Regions from separate parts of the Homo sapiens genome. Here all the other regions are linked to region 4. The links are contacts of gene promoters, found by promoter capture Hi-C in blood cells and fetal thymus (Javierre and others, 2016). All regions are on one chromosome and are shown on one strand. Each heading gives the region's core, a stretch centred on a gene start or on the middle of the fragment in contact. The rest is flanking DNA. Distances are from core to core; before and after follow the strand shown. Region 1 has its middle 13 kb from the start of PRELP. Region 2 overlaps LOC124904486 (a long non-coding RNA gene). Region 3 has its middle 21 kb from the start of CHIT1. Region 4 holds the start of FMOD (fibromodulin).

Region 1 (3,529 bases), core at 107-2,606, 110 kb after region 4:
GTGTATGTGTGTAACTGTATATATTTAGGTTATACAACATAATGTATGTTATGTATACACACACATTATGTTGTATAACCTAAATATATATAATTTTTCTCAATTTAAAACATTTTTCAATACATCTGATTGGGGTGGTGGTTGCATGGGTATATATACATACACATATGTGTCAAAGTTTGTCAAGCTGTATACTTCAAATGGGTACCTATTTGTAACCTGTTACTCTATGCAAATTATAATTTTTAAAAATTGATTTAAAAAGTAAGAACTCTGGCTTCTGGTACAGAATGAATTATACAGTGGCAAGAGGCCCTGCAGTGGACCCCTGATGGGGAGTGTAAAGGCTAGGTGGTGTTTACCATCCCAGCCACCTGTGGAGCCCAGAGTCTAATTATAGATGGTGGGAAAGCCCCTTTTTATAAATGCAGTGTTAATGAGCGTGTATAGTTATTAAGATGGGTCAGTAGGTAGCACGTGGGGTAGAGTTGTTTATCAGAATAGATCCAGGGCTAAATGGAAATGGGTCTGGAGGAACCGAGGAGCTCGAGTTGAAGATGGATAGGATAAACCCGGGGAAGCCTCTTAGAAAAGAAAGCCTCATCTTACAAGAAGAGAAGGAGCCAGAATGCTTTGCTCCTGCTGCTTTTGTGGGCAGACCTTGATGCAAGGGAGGGAAGGCAGGGAAACATGAAAGTGAAGATGGTGGGGGCACTGGGAGGTGGGTGGCATGGCCTGGAGATCAGAGTTTTTTTTTTGGGTGCCAGAGTGTATATGAGGGCACCAGGGGAGAATCCTTGATGGAGCAGGGAGGGTGCCAACCTCACTCTTGCTGGACTAGCAGCGGCTGTGTCTCCAGGTCCCCCACTCCCCACCAGCCTGGTTCTCCAGCTTCTCTTGTGGGATCTTGGGGGCCCCTGGCCCCATGGAGCAGTGAAGAAGTATAAGACATGGATCTTCTCCTGGTGCTAGCTGTGTGGCTTTTGACAGGTTATTTAATCTGAGTTTCAGTTTCCTTTAAAGTAGAAATAAAAATCAAAATAAGGCCATACATTAAGATTCTTAACATATTGCCTGGCACATAATAGCCATTTAATGCATGGAAATGTATTAGTATTATTAATTGTGAGACAAAACTAATAATACAAGAGGAACAAATGGGAGAATAATTTAGGACAGGATATAATTAGAGATATTTTTAGGTGGCACAGACCAGACCAGCCTGCAGGCTTGGAAGCAAAGTAGAAAAGGAAATAGAAAAAAAAGTGGAGTTGGCCGGGTACAGTGGTTCACGCTTGTAATCCCAGCATATTGGGAGGCCGAGGCAGGTGGATCACAAGATTCCAGGAGTTTGAGACCAGCCTGGCCAACATGGTGAAATCCCATCTCTACTAAAATAAAAAAATTAGCCAGGTGTGGTGGCATGTGCCTATAGTCCTAGCCACTTGGGAGGCTGAAGCAGGAGAATCACTTGAAATCAGTAGGCAGAGGTGGCAGTGAGCCGAGATTGCGCCACTTCACTCCAGCCTGGGTGACAGAGTAAGACTCCGTCTCAAAAAAAAAAAAAAAAATGTGGAGTTAATTCATGATTCATGCATTCCTTTAAGGACTTACTACGTGTCCTTTCCCTGCTTCATAGCACCACCAGTTGTGATATGCTTATGTTCATTTATGTGTTTGTTTATTCCTGTATTTTCCACTGGACCGAACACCTCAGGAGGACAAGGATGATGTCTGTTTTCTTCCCAGCTATACCCTCGGAGCTTACTATAGTGCCACCCACATAATAGGTGCTCAGTAAATGTTTGTCAAATGAATGCCAGGCCTGCAGGGTGCTGGGATATACTGTAAGCCCTCATCGAGCTTTTATTCTAAAGGGGGAGCCTGAGTAATTTAGATCACTCCTCTGAGGGTGGCTTGGGGACTCTGTGAGAGCAGAAGCTGTCACGCAAAAGGCCCGAGTGACCAGAGAGGAAAAAGATGGGTGGTGGAGGGACCTGGCAGGGCTGGCACAGAAGCCCCCACAGGAGGGCAGCAGGGCACCTGAAGATAGGCTCAGGAGCCAAGGGAGAAAAGAAGAAAAAGGGTGCTTTCCCTTGGTCAAATCAGCGCCCAATTCAGGGCTTAGAGCCTGGGAGGGAAACCCCTAGAGGAGAAGCTGGAGTGAGCAGGCTTTGAACCACCTCCACGCCCACCCACCATGGGCTCCGGATGAGGGATGGGGCCTGGCTCTGGGCAACAGGAACTGGAGTAGAGTCAAGGCCAGACCAGGGAGCAGGACTGAAGGGCTCCAGGAGGTGCCTGTAGCTCTGTGAGGGCCCTAATGGAGAGAAGAGTGATGTCGGAGAAGCTGCCAGAATGATTTAATCCCACTGCAATGTGGCAGCTAATGAATTTCATATCCCCTCCCTAAGCTCAGCCGCTAGAGTAGCCCAAAGACAGAGGAGAGAAGAAGAAGGAGCAGAGAGCAAGGAGGGAGCTTAGAGTGCACAGCCGGAGGGGAGGAAAGGGTTGGCAGATGGAGGAATGGGAGAAAAGTGGGAGGCACGAAGACAGGAGGGAGAAAGAAAAGGCAGGGAGAGGAAAAGAAGAGAAAGAGCCAGAGAGGGAGGAAGGAGGAGGAGGAGGGAGGAAGGAGGAGAGAGGGAAACGGTCTCAGGTCCACAGCAATCAGAGTGTAACAGCCTCAGGAACCAAATTCCCCTTGGCCCACCCTCCCTGTGAATAGAGACAGCAACGGGAGCCCACCAGAAACCTGGACTTAGAGGTCGCTGGCTCCCCTTATCTCTCTGTGTCTTTCCCTTCCTCCTTCTGCCCACACTTCCCCACACCTCCCCACCTCCCCTTTTTTTCCCTCTCTCCAGAAAAAACAGGAGGGAGGGTGGCTGCCCGCCCGGAGAGCTACTGCATTCAGCAGGAGCCCGGCAGATGAGTAATGCTAATGGCATAATAGTGCTAAGGACAACACCTGCCCTTCACCCAGCACCTGTCTCCAAGGAGCCCAAAGCTGTCCTCAAATCCAAATTCCACTCAAGATGGAAAAGGGCTTCTCTGTCTTCCAACAAGGATCTAAATAGAAAGAAGCCTGAATTCCAGCATGAGAGAGGCAAGGTAGATGGAAGGAAGAACTTCCCAACAAGGTCATTTTAGCTTGAAGTGCTAGGCTGACCATGACTGGGGGAATGAGGCACAGTGGGGTAGAGAGCCTTCATTTCTGAGGGTCTCTAAGAAAGCAGAGCCATCACTGTCCTGGGCTGCCTTTCCCCAGGCCCCGCACCACTTCGGTAACTCCACAGCCTTTCATGGAGCCCTGGCCCATGGAGCAGACAGTTGGGGCTGCCAGCCACCTTCCAAAACATGTTTTGCCTTTTTGCCTTCATTCTGTGGCTTGGCTCAACTGGGCCTGAAAATTCCCCACACCTGGGGTGGGCCAAGATGGGATGCTCCATTGCTCACATAACTGTTTCCAGCCCCAGAGCCCTGCTCTGTCTTAGGAATGGCCTCCTGGAATGGGACAGCTGGCCCTGAG
Region 2 (3,389 bases), core at 78-2,577, 82 kb before region 4:
GTAAGGAGACCCTGTCTCTTCAAATATATATATATATATATATATATATATATATACACACACACACACACACATATACATATGTGTATATATACATATATATGTGTGTATATATATACACATATATGTGTGTGTATATATGTATATATGTATATAATTATATATGTATATATGTGTATATATACGTATATAATTATATATACACACATATATGTGTATATATGTAAAATTAGCCAGGCATGGTGGTACGTACCTATGGTCTCAGCTACTCAGGAGGCTGAGGCAGGAGGATCGCCTGAGCCCTGGGGTGTTGAGGCTGTGGTGAGCTGTGATGGTGCCACTGCACTCCAGCCTGGGGCAGGGACTGAGACCCCATCTCAAAAAATAAAAATAAAAAGAATGGAAAGAACCAATGAAATCTTGATGCTATTAACACCTCTGAATATTTCACTGGTTTCTAGAATCCACACAAAACAGGAATCCTACAGAATGATGGCTTGCAGAGGACATTGTAACAGGGCAGTCAAACCAGTTGGAGAAGTGTGCTCTGTCCTATAAAAACGTGCTCCTTCCTGACGTCTACCCCATGTTGGTGGGCCCATGATCTCCTCCTAGACCTCTCAGCTGAAATCAGTCCTGTCCCTGTGTTTGGTGTCCTTCATACCCTCTCGTGGCTGCCTCCCTGCCACGGCCCTGGCTCAGGCCCTGGTCACCTTGCCTAGGGTAGTGGCTTCCCTGGGAATGCCATCTCCACTCAATACTCCTTCTGGTGCTAGAGTGCCCTGCTCAAGGCCTCACCTCCCACGAAGCTTCCTGAACAGCTTAACTCACTGTTTCTTCCTGTTCTGCCCTCTCCTATTATCTGTGCAAATCTGAAGGCACTTTCTGCTCTGTCATGTACCTGATCTTTCCTGCCAGCCTAGACTGCTTTGATGAAAACTGCATCAGATAGCAGAGGAAACACTTATTTGTATGGAAGTGGCGTCCTCTGCTGGTAGAAGTATGTAATGACTGGAACTTTTCCCTAGCTGTGTAAAGGACCCTCACTGCCCAAAGCTGAGACAACCAGTGATACCCAAGGAAACCCAGCTGCCCTTCTCTCTGCCCACCCCAGTCCCTAAGCATGTAAAATTCAATCCACTGACTCACTCACCAGATTTCCACACCTCACTATTACACTAAGATGTTCCTGATGCTCCAGTCTCATGGATAATGGCAATCTTTAACATTAATTGGATATGCACTGTATATGCCAGGCACTGGGCTAATCTCTTCATCTGTATTATATTATTTAACCCTCATAGCAACTTTGTACGGCAGACAAGTGGACCAGATTCCTTAAAAGCAGAGCCTGGGACAGATTTCATGCATATCTTCTTCTGTTGGGGAAGAACCCTCAGAAGAAAGAAAAGGAAGGAGAGTGGGGTGGGGAAGGAGGGAGCCAGGCTGTGGTGTCAGCTGTGGCTGAGCTGCGGCCTGATTTCATGGGGATCCCTGAAGCATGTGCTACACCAGAGTTCATCTTGTCTTGAGGTCGGGGACTGGCCTTTCCTGCCCCTGTGTCAGACAAGCATCGGCTGCAAGCCCCAAGTAAGGCAGCTTCCATTCCCGGGGAAGTCTCTGCAGAGGGAATAACTGTGAACTGTTACCAGCCAAACCTCACAGCAGCCGGTGGGCAGGGATGGAGGGTTGCACCAGACCAGTAAAGGGGATTTGGCTGGGCACTAATAGCAACCATGGTACTGTTATTTCTACTGTACAAATGCAGAATTATAATCTTCCAGGTTTGTAGATACTTTATAGATTTTGAGTGTTTTCATATTCATTACCTCATTCAATGTTACAGTAAGCTTGAGAGGTAGTGATCATGATCCCCACTTTATGAATGAGAGTGAGAAGTGGGAGACTTCCTCAGGATTGTCCAGCCAATAAATACCTTCTCTGTTTATAAATAGCGTCTTCTCAGATACATAGGCAGCTGTATTGGGTCCCAGTCCAACCTCTTCCCTGTGACATTCAGGCTCTGGTCGTTTACCAAGGATCTTACAGCCCTTTTAACTCAAAAGAGCCATGAAGCTGGCAACCTTCCTTGCTGAGACTAGGTACGAGGATACACCTCCTATCAGGTGAGGCCTTACCTTGCCTGCCTGACACTTTGCTGGGCTCAGAATGCTTCTCCAAATTCCCCCATGGAAAGAAGACACCCGGGCACTTCTCACCTGCTCCTGCTTCTGCAGTTCCCTTGGCAGTTTCCTTAGAGGTGTCCCAGCAAGCTAGAGTCTGTCAGAGGACATTGAGGGCCAGGCCAGAGAAGTTTAGAAAGAGTCCCAGGACTACCTGAGCACTGCCTTCACCTGCCACAGGGGTAGCTGTGCAGCCAGTCTTGTGGCAGAGGCTGGGGTTTCCTGGATCTTAGAAGTGTCACCTCTTCCACCCTCTCAGGGCCCTGGACTTTCGCCCTCAAGCTGCCTCTGGATCTAGCAAAGGCCCTGAGCCATCTTTGGAATGGATGAGTTCGAAAAGCTGCATTAGAGTGGCTCCCCTCCTTCAACGCCACCTCATCAGAGTTCTAAGGGATGCTTCACACCTAAGAGCTGATGAGGTACAGCAGGAGCACACAGGGGACCCAGAAACCTCGCATTGTGTTGAGAAACAGCTGACTGACTCAGGTTCAAATCCCCCACTCTATCACAGGGCATCTCAGTTAAGATGAGGTAGAAATGAGAGTAACAGAAAATTCACAACAGCAGCAATTGTGTTGTTATTGAGTGGCCCTTGCCCTCATGGTACAAGGTAGCACCTGCCTACCAAGTAGCAAAACAGAGGGAGGGACAAAGAAGAAGGAGCAGACAGCAGATGCACAACCTGTGTCTTAAGAAAGGTTCCCAGACACTGCTGCATAACGCGTCTACTTACTTCTCTTTGGCCAGAACTCAGTCATGTGACCACGCCTACCCACACAGGAGACTGGGAAATGCAGTCTTCATTCTGGGCAGCCATGTTTCCTGCTACAACTTTTCTTACCCTGATAAAATAGTAGAAAGTTATTGGAGACTAGCAGCTTCTACCACACTAGATTCTGGCCTCGGGCAAGTCTCATGGCCTCTCTAGGCTTGGAGATAATGCTATCTTACAACAAACAATTTGTATTAACTGAAGCCTCCGATGCAAAGGATCTAGCACAGAGCCTGGAATATACTATGCACAACCTCCCCTTCTCTGTTCCTGCCTCCAGATATTCTGAAGTGTGTGGCAGTAGCTCAAGTGCTCTCAAATGTGGCCACAGTTCCTGCAGCCCGTGTCTGAGTGCTTTCTCTATGCAAACTCACAGGATCACCCTGTAACTTCTTACCAGAACTTCTGAACCAGACCTCAGGGTAGTAGAGTAA
Region 3 (3,650 bases), core at 1,144-3,643, 99 kb before region 4:
AACCCAGGGTGCAGATGTTGCAGTGAGCTGAGATCGCCCCACTTCAGCCTGGGCGAAAGAGCAAAACTCCATCTCAAACAAACAAACAAACAAACAAACAACTCCCATTATGATTGTAGATGCATCTATATTTCCTTGCAGTTCAATCCATTTTTTTAAATTAAATAAACTCCATGCTTTACTTGTATTTCACTGTTTTCTCCCTAATGTCGTTTTTCAATTCAGGGTCCCATCTAGGATACCACATTACATTTAGTTGTTGTGTCTCCTTTAGCCCCCTCTTGTCTGTGACAGTTTCTCAGACTTTCCTTTTTACCTTTTCCAATACTTTGAAAGTTTTAATGAGTATTAGTCAGGTATTTTGTAGAATGTCCTTCAATTTTGGCTTGTCTAGTGTTTTCTTCATGGTTAGATAGGGGTTCTATGTTTTGGGGAGGTAAACCACAGAGGTGAAGTGCCATCCTCATTACATCTCATTAAAAATGTAGGTATTATCTGCTGGATGCAATGACTCACACATGCAATCCTAGTACTTTAGAAGGCCAAGGTTGGGGGGATCACTTGAGGTCAGGAGTTCGAGACCAGCCTGGCCAAGTGGATTCATAGGCAAATTCTACCAAATGCCAAACTTTCTCAAATTCTTCTAAAGAATAGAATAAAAATCTCACCCCAGGCTGGGTGTGGTGGCTCACGCCTGTAATCCCAGTACTTTGGGAGGCCAAGGCAAGCAGATCACTTGAGGTCAAGAGTTGGAGACCAGCCTGGCAAACACGGTGAAACCCTGTCTCTACTAAAAATACAAAAATTAGCCAGGCATGGTGGCATGCACGTGTAATCCCAGCCACTTGGGAGGCTGAAGCAGGAGAATCGCTTGAACCCAGGAGGCAGAGGTTGCAGTGAACAGAAATCTTACCACTGCACTCCAGCCTGGTGACAGAGTGAGACCTTGTCTCAAAAAACTAAAACTAAAAGGTAGGTATTATCCACATAACTGATCTTTTTAATCTTGATTACCAGGCCGGGATACTATTTGCCAGGTTTCTACTTCTCCACCTGGCTTCCCTATTCTACTCTTTGGAAGCGAGTCAGTAAGTGCAGCCCACACTCTAGGGGTGAGGAGTTAAGCTCCACTTCCTTGGGGAAGAAGCAACTACATACCTTTATTATATAATTCTGTATGGGACATTTGTCCCTTCTCTCCCATTTATTTACTATATCATTTATTTATATCCATATGGACTCATAGATATTTATTTATGTTTTGAGTTATAATCAAATACTATTAGTACATTATTTATTTTGCTGCTCAAATTTTTCCAGCTTTGGCCACCGAGAGCTCTTTAATGTTGGCTTGTTTCAGTCAGCATAAAGTTTTTGAGACTCATCCATTTTGTTGTTATCAGTAGTCTGTTTCTTTTAATTGCAAGAAGTATTGTATTTTATGAATATATCCCACTTCATAAACATTGGGTTATTTCCAGTTTTGGCTATCAGAAATGCAAAGCTTCTATGAACAGTTATGTATACGTCTCTTCGTGGACATATGTTTTCATTTACTTTGAATAAATACACAGGTGTAAAATTAGAGTCATCAGCTAGCTTTATGTTTAATAAGAAGCTACCAAGCAAGCAACTTTTCAAAGTAATTGTGCCATTTCACACATCCAAGAGCAACGTGAGAGTTTTTGTTATGTCAAATGCTTGCCAACATGTGGTGTTGACAGTCTTTATAATTTTAGACATTCTAGTAGGCATGTAGTGATTCATTATGGCTTTAATTTGCCTTTGCCTGCTGAGTAATGATGTCGAGCACTTTTTTTATATGTCTTTGTCCATTCATATGTCTTTGTTTGCTTCTGAAAATGTTGCTCAAGTCTGTCATCCACATTTTTATTGTGTTAGAAGTTCTTTATTATTCTGGATAGAAATCCATATTCAGATATATGTACTGTGAATGTTTTCTACCAGCCTTTGGTTTTGCCTGTTCGTTTTCTTAGCTGAGTCTTTTTTTTTGTATTGTGGTAAAAACCACACAACATTAAACCATCCTAAACATTTTTAAATGTACATTTCAGTACTGTTAAGTATATTCACTTGTGCAACAAGTCTCTAGAAATTTTTCTTCTTGCAACACTGAAACTCTATACCTACCAAACATGAATTCCCCATCCCACCTCCCGCAAGTTCTTGGCGACTACCTTTTTACTTTATGTTTTGAGGATTCTGACTTATTTAGATACTTTATATGAGTGAATTATACAGTATTTGTCCATTTGTGACTGGCTTATTTCACTTAGCATAATGTCCTTAAGCTTCATTCATGTTGTAACATGCCCTTTTTTAAGGGCACATAAAATTCCATTATGTGCATATACCACATTTTCTTATCCAATTACCTGTTATTTCCTCCTGTTGGCTATTGTGAATAATCCTGCAATGAACATGGGTGTGCAAATATCTCTGAGATCTGCTTTGAAGCTTTTTGGCTATATACCCAAAAGGGGGATTGCTGGATCATATGATAGTTCTATTTTTAATGTTTTGAGAAACTCCATACTGTTTTTCATAACATCTGTATAATTTACTTTCCCACCACCAGTGCATGAGGACCCAAACTTCTCTGCATCCTTGTCAACACTTGTTATTTCCTGTTATTTTTATAATGGCTATCCTGATGGGTGTGAGGTGATATCTCATTGTGAGTTTTATTTACATTTCCCTAGTGATTAATGATGTTGAGCATATTTTCATGTACTTAATAACCATTCATATATCTTCTTTGGAGAAATGTCTATTTAAATCCTTTGCCAGTTTTTAAATTGGATTATTTGGGGTTTTTCTTGTTGTTAAGTTGTACAAGATCCTTATATATTCTGGATATTGACCCCTTATCAGATATATGACTTGCAACTCTTTTCTCCCATTCCATAGGTTGCCTTTTCTCTCTGTTGACTGTTACTTTGATGTGTAAAAAAACTTAAGTTTTATGTAGTACTATTTGTCTATTTTTTATTTTGTTGCCTGTGCTTTTGGTATCATATCCAAGAAATTATTGCCAAATCCAATTGTTGGCATATAATTGCTCATAATGGCATTTACATTTTAAGAAATTGCTGATAGTGAAGGACTTACTGTTGCCATTTTGTTCATTGTGTTCTGTTTCACTTGTAGCTTTCTTTGTCCCCCCCCCCTTTTTTCTTTTGATAATTTCTTTTGTGTTTCATTAATTTTTTTTTGTGGCCACAGATTTTGATTCCCTTCTCACTTCCTTTCCTTTACAGTCTTTGTCCATTTTCTGTTGCTGTAACAGAATACTTGAGACCAGGTAATTTATTTTTTAAAAAGAGGTTTGTTTAGCTCACAGTTCTTGATGCTGGGAAGTTCAAGATCAAACAGCTGCATCTGACGAGGGTCTCATGCTGTGTCATAACATGGAGGATGGCATCACATGGTGGTTATGCATGTGAGAGCACTGAGCGGGTACACACACAAGAGAGAAAACATGAGGGGTGACCTCACTTTATAACAACCCACTCTTGCGGTAACTAATCCAGTCACTGAAGAGCAATAATTCACTCCTGTGAAATGGCATTAATCCCTTCATAAGGACAGATGGCTTATGACCCAAATGCCTCTTAAAGGTCCCACCA
Region 4 (3,481 bases), core at 322-2,821:
TGAGCAGTGGGCATCTTCCTGAGTGTCACCCTTGGACAGAGAAACCTTAGAATCTTTCTTGGCCTGGAAGAGTCACATACAGCCCTCACATTGCTGTTGGGCCTACTGGGGTTGGCAACTGTAAACAGAAGAAAGAAAGGAGTATAAAAGCCAACATCATCAGATCCAGTGAACTGATGGGAAAGACCCCAACTATGACACTCAACAGAGTTACCTCCTGACCACCATCCATCCCAGACCTCTCTGTCCCCTCAAAACAGTTTCCTTGGGCCCACTTCATCCCATCAGTTCCTAGGTTGCAGAGGAGCAGGCACCCTGGCTCATCCACAGGCAGCCTCAGGCCTCAGACAAAGAGCCACAGTGTTTTGGAGAAGCTGACCCAACTGCCCACTGCCTGGGCAAGCTGGCTGGTTCCTGGCTCTGGCCAGGAGAGAAGACGAATGGAGCGGCCCACTGCCAACAGAGCATTTTTCCATGCACAGCCCTGGGCTGTTGCAGGACCAAGGTGGCTGTCTGGAGGGCTGGCACAGTGAGCCTCTGTCTCCGTTTCTCCTTCTTTCAGACTGGGCACCTTGGCAGACAAGAGCCACCTTCCCCTTCAGACTCAGCTTTCTAGGGGCTGTGCACCCTGCCCACTTCAGCCTCTTCTTAGAGCCATGGGTGCTGAAAGGGTTTGATGGGGAGCTTATGCCTCTCCTTACCCCATCCCATCTCTTAGCAATGTTGCTTCAGGGTTGCATAGTCTTACACTGTTTCCCATAATGCTAGAGGCCCTCCTGTGCTCAGAGTTTCTGTAAGGTCGAAAGTTTCCAGGACTGCCACACTATCAGCTGGGGGAAGTTTACTCAGGAGCTACTGCTGTTCTTTCATTTCTCCACTCTAGAGAAAGATCTCTCCCTCCTATCAGTGGAGAAGGTCAAGCCAGAGGCCATCCCCTCACCTGGATTGCATCCCCACCCCAATCCACAGCTCCCTGGACATGGCCAGTTCTCAATGCTTCTTTTTATTCTCTCCTTTCCACTCCAAACACACACACACACACACACACACACACATTCTACACAAAAGTTTCCCCCTCTCCCATAATAGCATTTATGTACCAAACCCCTCTATAAGAGAGATTGCAGGGACATCCAGGTCTTGGAATACCCTTCAAAATGCCCACACTCCCAGCATGATGGGATTTATGAGTAGCAGGGAAGAAGCTTCCCTAGACAGAGGGTCCTTCACTTTTTCATGCCTGAGAATTGGAGGTCCCCTCAGCACCCATAAAGGAACTGTAAGAGAAAGGTACAGGGCTGGAACCCCTCCCTTATACACCCTCTCTGCCACTCTCCAGCATCCCTGGGGTCATGGCCCAGATGTGGAGAAGGAGGAATGAACCCTCCCTGCCTCCCCATCTCCCCTATCCCCTACCACTTTTCCTTTATTTCTTTTAAGGAACTGCTAGGGACAAACCCGAAGTAAAACGACTATACTTACCTCAAGTTGAACTTTTCAGAGAGTGACCACGTCCCTCTGTCTGGCCTCCTTGGGTTGGAGAACGTGTGAGAGAGGAAGAGAGAGAGGAGTGAAAGAGTCTACTGAGAGTGTGCGTGCCTGTGCCAGACCAGGGTCCCGCCCCAAATTCCTAATCAAATATTGTGAAAAGGGGCTGAGGAACCCGGATCCTGGTTTTTTTCAGCTCTGCTGCAGGGGCGGAGTTCACGCTCAACCACGCAAATCCTTCGGTCCGCCTGACGCTATAAAAACCACCTTTTTTCCACTCACTTATCTTCCCTGAAACATTGGCAGCCCTGGGTCCCTTTCTGCTGAATGAGTTAGTGGCGCCCTAGAAGTTATTTGTACAGTCTCTTATGAAGCGCCTGGATTTCTCATTAAAGCCACAAAGGCAGATGCAGGGATGGGGAGGGCCAGGGTTTGGTAAGAGACATCTTAACTCCTTCAGCAACCCACATGTCCCTCCAGAGAGCGAGAACTCGCGCTTCTCAGCTCCCCCTATAGACAGGTCATCAGGCTAGTGGATAAGGGAGCATGAATGACAAGGGACAGCCGGCTCTGGTTCCAGTTCTATCCCTAAGCAGTGTAGACTTTTCTAGGCTACAGGTCCTGCCCACCTCCACCACTGGAACAAAAGGAAAGGCAGGGACTCCAGCATTTGCTGATCACTGCTTATGCACTAGCATCATCCACTTCCACTTAATGCTCACAACAAATTCAGAGTTAATAACACTTACCTTGCTGGGTTGTAGCAAGGACTGTATCAGGTGATGTGTGGGAGGCTCCTGACCTGGCACATAGCTGAGGTTCACTGTGTCCTACCCATTTCACAGCCATAGAATTCCTCAGCCAGGGAAAGACAAGATCAGAAAGCTGGGCAGGAGCTGTACCATGAAAGGACTTTTGGGCGATGGAAGTGATTTGGTTTTTATTCTAAATGTTTTTGTTGTTGTTGTTGTTGTTTGTTTGTTTGAGAAGGAGTCTCAGCTGGGCGTGGTGGCTCATGCCTGTAATCCCAGCACTTTGGGAGGCCGAGGCAGGAGGATCATGAGGTCAGGAGATCGAAAAGGAGTCTCGCTGTGTCGCCCAGGCTGGAGTGCAGTGGCACAATCTCTGCTTTCTGCAACCTCCGCCTCCCAGGTTCAAGCCGTTCTCCTGCCTCAGCCTCCTGGGTAGCTGGGACTACAGGCACACGCCACCACGCCCAGCTAATTTTTTGTATTTTTAGTAGAGACAGGGTTTCATCATATTGGTCAGGCTGGTCTTGAACTCCTAAACACAGGTGATCCACCCACCTCAGTGCCCCAAAGTGCTGGGATTACAGGCGTGCGTCATCCGGTCCGGCCTATTCTAAATGTTTAAAAAAAAAAACATGTTTCAAGCAGGAGAAGCCATGGGATCTGATTTGCATGGGATCTAATTTACATTTTAAAAGCATGTAGGAGGGGCTGCTGTATGGAGAAGGGGAGGCCAGGGTGGAAGCAGGGAGGCTCCAACCCAGCCTCAAGGAGAGGTAATGGCAGATTGGACTGGTGCAATGGAAGAGAAGATCTTATATTTTAGACAGAGAACTGACAAGTCTTGCAGAGTTAGGAAAAGTCAAGGATGATTCCTAGAATTTTAGTTTGAGCAACTGGGTAGGTGGTGGTAACATTTCTTGACATGGGAAAGGTGACGTGGGACTGAGTTGGGTAGAAAACCAAAGTTACATTTTGGATATGCTGTTAGAGATGCCTGCTAGGCATTCCCCTGGAGATGCACGTAGACCGTTGGACATATGAATCTGAATCTGGAGTTTAGGGGCTGGAAGAAAACATTTGAGAACCATTATAATGTGGGTCACACAGAATCTCAATAGCTTAGATAAACTCATGTGTCCTAAATGTTCTCTCCTCAAGTATGTTAACTGGCTTATGCCAACATCAAAGAAACACCTTTATCTTAAAAAAATACCAACTGAGAAACCCTGAGATGACTTGAA

What was found. The method cuts DNA at HindIII sites, captures the fragments that hold promoters and counts their contacts. A CHiCAGO score of 5 or more calls a contact.
Region 1: a fragment that was not itself captured here is called in contact with the fragment with the promoter of FMOD in region 4 in 8 of 17 cell types (naive B cells, M1 macrophages, total B cells and 5 more); the score reaches 9.5 in naive B cells.
Region 2: a fragment that was not itself captured here is called in contact with the fragment with the promoter of FMOD in region 4 in 2 of 17 cell types (naive B cells and total CD8 T cells); the score reaches 5.6 in naive B cells.
Region 3: a contact is called between a fragment that was not itself captured here and the fragment with the promoter of FMOD in region 4, in 5 of 17 cell types (total CD8 T cells, activated CD4 T cells, naive CD4 T cells and 2 more). The highest score is 5.6, in total CD8 T cells.

What each region holds. Positions count from the first base shown.
Region 1 is chr1:203,461,518-203,465,046 of GRCh38, forward strand. No RefSeq gene overlaps it. Among named protein-coding and RNA genes, the nearest start is that of PRELP, 13 kb to the right of the region's middle. The HindIII fragment of the contact is 5,337 bases long and covers 1-3,529 here.
Region 2 is chr1:203,268,265-203,271,653 of GRCh38, forward strand. LOC124904486 (a long non-coding RNA gene) reads right to left here. Exons shown (of 2, transcript XR_007066798.1): 2 at 1-3,389. Among named protein-coding and RNA genes, the nearest start is that of LINC01353, 17 kb to the right of the region's middle. The HindIII fragment of the contact is 1,041 bases long and covers 808-1,848 here.
Region 3 is chr1:203,249,339-203,252,988 of GRCh38, forward strand. No RefSeq gene overlaps it. Among named protein-coding and RNA genes, the nearest start is that of CHIT1, 21 kb to the left of the region's middle. The HindIII fragment of the contact is 166 bases long and covers 2,311-2,476 here.
Region 4 is chr1:203,349,551-203,353,031 of GRCh38, forward strand. FMOD (fibromodulin) reads right to left here and starts at 1,572. Exons shown (of 3, transcript NM_002023.5): 1 at 1,483-1,572. The HindIII fragment of the contact is 3,247 bases long and covers 1,204-3,481 here.